2 separate regions of the Homo sapiens genome follow, and region 2 is linked to region 1. The links are contacts of gene promoters, found by promoter capture Hi-C in blood cells and fetal thymus (Javierre and others, 2016). All regions are on one chromosome and are shown on one strand. The core of a region is centred on a gene start or on the middle of the fragment in contact, and the rest is flanking DNA. Distances in the headings are between cores, read along the strand shown. Region 1 holds the start of CACNB2 (calcium voltage-gated channel auxiliary subunit beta 2). Region 2 overlaps HACD1 (3-hydroxyacyl-CoA dehydratase 1).

Region 1 (4,180 bases), core at 582-3,081:
CCATTCTTTAAGCCTGGCGCAAATCAGTGCTATGGTGGAGATGATAGGTTTAAAATGTCTATGCTTATCTTTGAGGAGAAAAGTACTGTATCTCATGTAATTTAATATATCATAGTAAACTATAGAAGGCAGTTGAAGCCTATTATAGTAAATTTTTGCATGTGTATTTCAATATACCAAACTTTCAGTTTGTTGTTACAAAATAACATATAAATAGGTTTCTGGAGCTGGATGGGCACGGTGGCTCACACCTGTAATCCCAGCACTTTGGGAGGCCAAGGTGGGCGGATCATGAGGTCAGGAGTTTGCGACCAGCCTGGCCAACATGGCGAAACCCTGTCTCTACTAAAAAATACAAAAATTAGGCTGGATGCAGTGGCTCAAATCTGTAATCCCAGCACTTTGGGAGGCAGAGGCGGGCAGATCACCTGAGGTCAGGAGTTCGAGACCAGCCTGGGCAACGTGGTGAAACCCCATCTCTACTAAAAATACAAAAAAATTAGCCGGCTGTGGTGGCGTGCACCTGTAATCCCAGCTACTCGGGAGGCTGAGGCAGGAGAATGGATTGAACCCAGGAGGCGAAGGTTGCAGTGAGCCAAGATCGTGCCACTGTATTCCTGCCTGGGTGACAAGAGTGAAATTCTGTCTCAAAAAAAAAAAAAAAAAAATGCCTGGAAAACTCATTACAGAAGTTTCCACTGTAGTAAAATTTGTTGAAATAAGTTGCACTCAATCATGTAAAAATGTGGCTCCTTGGGACTATCTGAACGGAATGTTGTAAGTGAAACACCCTCACCATAGTCACTATCCTGTTATCAAGAATTCTGGATCTTAAGGAAGTGCTTGTTTTGTCAAAAATGTGACACTAAGACTTTTCACCCCTATAGAAAAACCTCAACCCTGGCCTGGCGTGGTGTCCCACCCCTGTGATCCCAGCACTTTGGGAGGCCGAGGCCGGTGGATTACTTGAGGTCAGGAGTTCAAGACCAGCCCGGGCAACATGGTGAAACCCCGTCTGCACTAAAAACACAAAAATTATCTGGGCTTGGTGGCCTGTGGCTGTAATCCCAGCTATTCGTGAGGCTGAGGCTAGAGAATCGCTTGAACCCAGGAGGCGGAGGTTGCAGTGAGCTGAGATCGCGCCATTGCACTCCAGCCTGGGCGACAGAGTGAGACTCCGTCTAAAACAACAACAAGCAACAACAACAACAAACTTCAATTATGTTTGGAAAGAAGTGCTAATTTAATTTGGCAAAGATGAAGACAGCAGTCATAAAGCAAAACATTCGGTCTCAGGTTGGGTGGATTCCCACCTAGTTGACGAGGCCAGCTGCAGATTCAGGTGGGATCACCTGATGATCTTTATCAATGCCATTTCTTTCTCTGGATCCTTATTACTGACATTAGCAAGGGCTTTCAGCTGCCCAGAAGATGTTCTTTGCAGACATTTGCTCTCCCGGGCTGCCAGCAGGCTTTACAAATTTAAAACTTTCAGTGTAGGAACCCAGCCTCCGTCGTCCTTCCCCTCCAAAGTTAAGAGATCTGCTCTAAGGGTTCCTGAGGGGTGGTCTGGGGCCATGGGAACAGGATCAAGGCCCCCTGAGCGCCGGGCCTGGCTTCTGTGGCTTCGCAAACTTTTCAGCCTGTGTGCCACGGCGACGCGCAGCGGCTGAGTCGGAGCCCACGCGGCGCGCGCCTCCCGCGAGGAACTTTTCGGCTTGTAGGCTGCTTGTCACTCTCGCTTTCCGACGCGCCTCCCCCTGGCTCGCGCTCCCGGAGTTCCCTCCCCTCCTGGCGAGGACCTTTCCCGGCGCCCGCGGCTCCGATCCCCGCCGCGCTGCGCCCGCTCTCCCGGCCCCGGCTGCCCCGCTGAGGGCTCCCCTCTCCCAGGCACCGCAGCCGCGCCCCCGCGTCCCGCCTCCCGAGCGGCTCGCTTCGCCCGATGCCCCGGCCCCGTCCCGCGCACTGAGCGCCTGGCAGCAGGGCGCCGAGTCCCGGGGCGCTGCGGGGCGCTGCGCCGAGAACGGCCGGGCCTGAGCCCTGGGCGGCCCCCAGAGCCGATCAGAGCGCGGGGAGGCGGGGGCGAGGAGGAGGGGACCCGCCGCCGGGGGCTGGCTGCTTCGCTCCGAGCCGACTTTTCGCCAATGGTCCAAAGGGACATGTCCAAGTCGCCTCCCACAGCGGCGGCGGCGGTGGCGCAGGAGATCCAGATGGAACTGCTAGAGAACGTGGCTCCCGCGGGGGCGCTCGGAGCCGCCGCACAGGTAGCGAGAGCGCGGCGCCTTCTCCTTCCTTTGTGAGCCGCCGGGCAGGGCACCGACCTCGGGTTCTCCCGGCGCCTCCACTGCAGGGATCTCTAGCCTCGCACCTCCTCCCCTCGTCGCCTGCCCACCCTCTGCTCCTCTCCTGGCGCCGGGGACCCTGCCCCTTTGCGCCTTTTCCTGGCTCTGCCTCGGCTTCCATTTTTCTCTGCTTCCGAAAAGCCAGTGGGGAAGGGCGGGGGAGACCTGCCAGTCCTCCCAGACTTCTCCCGGGTTGCTCCAGCTGGCCCTCCTCGCCCCTTCCCGGGAGAGGCACATGGAGAGACATGAATCAGGGGAGTGGACTGGACCTGCTGAAGATCGTGAGTCCGGGTGGGCGGGAGGGGGCCCGCTTCCCGCAGCGCTTTCTACGATGCCGACTCTCCTGGCCACGCTCCGAGCCGGGGTGGGCGTGGGTGTGAGGATGATGGGGTGCAGGTGGGCAGGAGGGGAGCGAATATGGGGGTGCCCTGCCGGATCCCCCCAGAGCTGCCCGGACCACGCTGCGCACCTGGGGCTGACAGCTCTCCAGTCCCCTCGGGCACTTGCCAAGGTTTGCCTGTCCCACCTCATGCCTTTCCCTTAAGAAGCGAGTGAGCTGGGGACAAGAAAGTTTTTATTTTTCCGTCTCCCCTGAAATGTTAGCCATTTCAGGGATCTCCAGGATCCCCTTTCTCTCCGTTGAGTGTTTGCGGTTTCTGGAAAAAGTCAGCTTCGCTGCAGGTTGTTGTGAAATTGGAGATGTCAGTTGTAGGCGCTGGGCAATGACAAGGTGGTTTTTACGTTTTTACGTAAGGCTTCAGCAGGTACAGTTTGGGTTACAGACACCTCCAGGTCTCAGCGATGAGGAGTCGCTCAACTTTTCTCCCGGCAGGGAAATGACTTCAGACTCCTAGCTGCGGGCTGGCTGTTGGCTGGCCAGTGATGTGAAGAGGTCTTGGTTACATTTCAGGCAGCATTCTGGAGAAATGTCTGTTTGCTTAACTGTGTTGGCTTGTTGATTTCAAGCCTACATTTGCCAGATTTTAATTTGCGGTAAGATATATATGTGTGTGTATATATACTTATATATTAATACGTAGACACACATACACACACTAGAGAGCATGTTAGAGTATCATTTGCTGTAGTAGTGGGGGCAGGAGTGTGACAAGCTAATAAAGGTGGCAAATGTTTTCTTGCTGTTGTTTTGATAGGTGGAACATGAGTGCTCTAGATATTTTGATATTGTAATCATGGCAGTTCCAAGTGGCATAGTAGTCTAGCTTTATTGAACTTTCTTTTACCATTGGGAAATTAATGTGCTAACTTAAAACACATAATTCACTTTGACTTGAGAAGGGGAAGAATGTGGACACCAAGGACTTGTGTAATCAGAAATCTATTTCTTTTGTAGTGGTAAAACAGCTAGATTTTGGTCCACCCTGGGCTGTTTGCTTCACAAGCCGAGTAGGGACATGTAATGAACCAGCTACATTCCCATCTGGCCTCTGCCAGAGGATCTGAATTTTAACCAATAGAGTTTGCATTTGTTCTAGACTCCTGATTTTTATCTAGATGCTTGCCAGGTTAGACAGAATGAAAAATGTACCCGGAGACCTCGGTTATTCTAGGATGAAGGTCTTGAATACTATCAGTATTCGAGTCCTCCATCAAAGGAAAGGACATTTAGACCCTCATTTGCCTTTGATCTTCCTTGAGGGATATTTTAGAAAAGTTTTTATTCTTATGATAAAAATAGAGTTCCTAAATTCCTGGACATCAAAGTCAGGGCTCACATAACTGCATTCAGATAAGAGATACTAATTTACTTTGTGATTTATGTACAATGATTAAATGTAAGTCAAGTTATTGTACAGCAGCAATGTGGAAATGATTCT
Region 2 (4,180 bases), core at 540-3,039, 550 kb before region 1:
TTTTAGTAGAGACGGGGTTTCACCATGGTGGTCAGGCTGGTCTTGAACTCCTGACCTCAAGCAATCCTCCCACCTTGGCCTCCCAAAGTGCTGCGATTACAGGTGTGAGCCACCACACCAGGCCACAAGCTAGTGATTTTTAAGCAACTCACTTAACCTCTTTCATCTTAATGTAAATGAGAAATAATACTACTACTTTTGAATACTAAGTACTCAAAAAGTACTTTTAATTAGCAAAGGATTTAATAAGTAAAATTAATTGATTTATTACTAACATTAAGAATGCAGGGGGAGGAGGGAATTAAAAAAAAATGCAGTGGAAAACATGTTCTGGGCTGAGTGATTCTCTGGCCAGTGGGACTCAGTAGCTGGCAGCATGGTGAACTGGGAAGCTGCTACTGGTACAGGCCAGAGTCTACATCTCCCAGGACAACTGAAAAAGGTGCTTCAGGCTCTCCATTTCCATGGAGATGCCTCAAAAGCCATGAGGAGGAAGAGAACCCACTGTTTGAACCTGTAACTGTCAGACAGACACCGAAGCAAGCTCTGGTTCTGTTCAAGTAATGCTACCATTAACCTGCCATTGGGAAAAGAGAGGGATGTGAACCAATAGAGTAGGCATCCCCTCCTTAGCTCTCCCGAACTGGCTGGGGTAGAAAATCAGATACAGAATCAGGCTGAAGTGGTAGAAGACAAGGGGAAAACATATCTTTCACCACTAAGTCAATTTTGACTTTGGGAAAGATACAAGTTGGAGACATCTGCCGGGGGCAGGGGCTCATGCCTGTAATCCCAGCACTTTGGGAGACCAAGGTGGGTGGATCCCTTGAGGTCAGGAGTTTGAGACCAGCCTGGCCAATATGGTGAAACCTCGTCTCTACTAAAAATACAAAAATTAGGTGGGCACTGTGGCAGGCGCTTGTAATCCCATGAACCTGAGAGGCAGCGATTGGAGTGAGCTGAGATGGCGCCACTGCACTCCAGCCTGGGCAAAAGCGCAAGACTCTGTCTCAAAAAAAACAACAAAAAAAAGTTGGAGACCTCAAGGGGCTGGCCAAGTTTTATGCGCATCTCCTTTAGATGAAATAATTTGTATCATGTCGATGTAGATTTTAGAGCTATCAATATTTGACTTAAAAATATATCACTATTAGCCCCCACGCCTTTTTTTTTTTGAGACAGAGTCTCACTCTTATTGCCCAGGCTGGAATGCAATGGCATCATGTCAGTTCACTGCAACTTCTGCCTCTCAGGTTCAAACGATTCTCCTGCCTCAGCCTCCTGAGTAGCTGAGATTACAGGCATGCGCCACCATGCCCAGTTAATTTCTGTATTTTAGTAGAGACAGGGTTTTGCCATGTTGGCCAGCCTGGTCTCGAACTCCTGACCTCAGGTGATCCACCTGCCTCGGCCTCCCAAAGTGCTGGGATTATAGGCATGAGCCACGGAGCCCTGCCTCACTATTAGCAGCACTGAAATGGAGTAAAGCCTTACCAATTCACTTCAACTGCTGAAAGATGATGAGAAATTAGTGAAGAGGCTGACTTATTCAAAATCCTTTAAGAAAAGAGGCTTTATTATTTGCAAGTACATAGAGCAACACAAATAAGACTCAAAACTACTCCTAGATGATTTTTCCAAGTATATGCTTAATGAATAGATAGAAATGATCTGAAATTTTCTTGGACACAGTGTTTATACTCAGACATATAATTCTAAATGCTTGTAAAAAGTGCACTAATGCTTTAAACATGATTTGTTTTTATCTTTCTTTAAAAAAATCATACTAAGCTGATGTTTAAATGATTTTGAGAAAGCAATAATCCATGCGTTAATTTACCTGCCTTTATTCTCATAGCTAATGAACTGTCTTCTGCCTCTATCTCCCTTCACTTTTCCCAAATTATCAGTAAATATGGAGTTAAACCGAAGTTTTAATGTATTTGTAAGCAATTATTTCTAATTATTTCCCCTTGCATATTATTATATCCTTTCAAAAATTTCCACATCATATGTCAAATCAAAGTACTAATAAGTATATACTTACAAGGTATATATGATGCCATGGTTATAAGAAGAAAATAATAGTAGTCAAAAGAGACATTGTATTTGTTAGGAAGTCTTATTGAAAACATTCCTGTTTTCTTCACATGCGGCAAGGCAGCGTATATTGTAAGAAGTTCACCAGCAACTCCAACAGGATATAAGATGATAAAAAAATTATATCTGGAGAAAGAAAAACCTCAGAGAATTATTTTTCTACAATAATTATTAGACTTTACATTGCAGGTCTATTGCTACTACTAAATTTAAACTTCAAAATTCTCTTTTCTTTACATATTTACAATAACCTTACGTAAGGTTAATAGTTCTACTTTAATCATTTGCTTATTGATTATCATCCTTTTTTTCCTAATACCAGTTTCCATAATAGGCAATGTCTTTTTAATAAAATAGTATCAACTTATTTTAGAGTACCAAAATACTTTTATGTATTAAAAAATGTATATGTAGTTTTTCTTGTTTTTGTTTTGAGATGGAGTTCGCTCTTGTCACCAGGCTGGAGTGCAGCGGCACAGTCTTGGCTCACTGCAACCTCCACCTCCTGGGTTCAAGTAATTCTCCTGCCTCAGCCTCCCAAGTAGCTGGGATTACAGGTGTGTGCCACCATACCCAGCTAATTTTTGGTGTTTTTTTTTTTTGTTTTTTGTTTTTTTTTGAGATGGAGTCTTACTCTGTCGCCTAGACTGGAGTGCAGTGGCACAATCTTGGGTCACTGCAACCTCCACCTCCCGGGTTCAAGCAATTCTCCTGCCTCAGCCTCCTGGGTAGCTGGGACTACAGGCGCCCGCCACCACGCCCGGTTAATTTTTGTATTTTTAGTAGAGACAGGGTTTCACCATGTTGGTCAGGCTGGTCTTGAACTCCTGCCTTCAGGTGATCCACCCGCCTCAGCCTCCCAAAGTGCTGGGATTACAGACATGAGCCACCATGCCCGGCCTATGTAGCTTTAAAAAAAGTATTGTAATGGTAACTTCTTTGGTGCATAAAATCACAAATGACTGCTTTTGTCCGCGGCAGCTAGTAATTTATTGATCAAACACTGCGTTTAAAAAGACCAGTGATTATCCTAAATTTTATATCTAAACCTTGAAATTACCAAGGTAGTTATTTTTAAGAGGCATTTGAAAAAGTCTTTGTGGTTACTAATGAAAACCAATTATTGCAGAAAACTGATAATACCACCTGAAGCATGAGTAGCTACTAATGAGTATATTATATTGTCTAAAACTGCTACCGTAACAAAATAAATTGACAAGTTAGTTCCTGAATTCCCACATTAAAAGAAGAGTGAGCTTGTTTAAAGTAGAGTTAAGAAAGTTCTACTCTAAATCCAAAGTCATCATGTGTTCATTTGGTCTGTGGCAAGGTCTGGAACACACAGTAGGCCAGGCATCCTGTATGCTTCCAATTAGGAAACACTCTGTGTTCTACTGGCTGGTCTCCAATAAGAGGGGCCTAAAGGATCCAAGATGATCATATTTCTTCATTAAAAAAAAAAATCATTTTTCTCTGACTCAGTCACTATATAACAGTTACCACAGAAAACTTAAGAGGCCAGAGTGCAAGACCACTCTGGGCGATATAGTAAGACCCCGTCTCACAAAAAAAAATTTAATGAGCAGACCACAGTGGTGCATGCCTGTCGCCCCAGCTACTTGGGAGGCTAAGGCAGGAGGATTGCTTGAGCCTAGGAGGTCAAGGGGGCAGTGAGCCAAGACCGCACCACTGTACTCCAGCCTGGGTGACACAGCGAGACCCTGTCTCAAAAAAAATAAATTTAATTTAAAAAAAGAAAAATGTTTTTAATTTAAAACAAAAGGTCAACATTTTGATGGAAAAAGAAATCAAATTAATCTGTATTTTATTTAATCATTTTGTTGGCATTAGGAAATATCTATAAAGAAAAGTCAAAGTTGTCAGTATTGAAGAAGCTTGGAGACAAATTAAAAATTGCATTATTCCTGTATGTCAAGGATATGCGAAGATAAGAGATGGGGAGAAGGGCAGAATTATTTGCCAAAATAGATGAGCTATTCAAGAAAGAAGAATGATTCCTTCACTGTACCTGTTAATCCCTTCTTGGCCTTGGAGAAACTCCCTGCTTTCTTACCAGTTT

What was found. The method cuts DNA at HindIII sites, captures the fragments that hold promoters and counts their contacts. A CHiCAGO score of 5 or more calls a contact.
Region 2: a contact is called between a fragment that was not itself captured here and the fragment with the promoter of CACNB2 in region 1, in 1 of 17 cell types (fetal thymus). The highest score is 5.5, in fetal thymus.

Annotation. Positions count from the first base shown.
Region 1 is chr10:18,138,593-18,142,772 of GRCh38, forward strand. CACNB2 (calcium voltage-gated channel auxiliary subunit beta 2) reads left to right here and starts at 1,832. Exons shown (of 14, transcript NM_201596.3): 1 at 1,832-2,264. The coding sequence starts at 2,145. The HindIII fragment of the contact is 10,163 bases long and covers 1-4,180 here.
Region 2 is chr10:17,592,158-17,596,337 of GRCh38, forward strand. HACD1 (3-hydroxyacyl-CoA dehydratase 1) reads right to left here. Exons shown (of 7, transcript NM_014241.4): 6 at 2,048-2,226. Among named protein-coding and RNA genes, the nearest start is that of HACD1, 23 kb to the right of the region's middle. The HindIII fragment of the contact is 4,408 bases long and covers 1-3,993 here.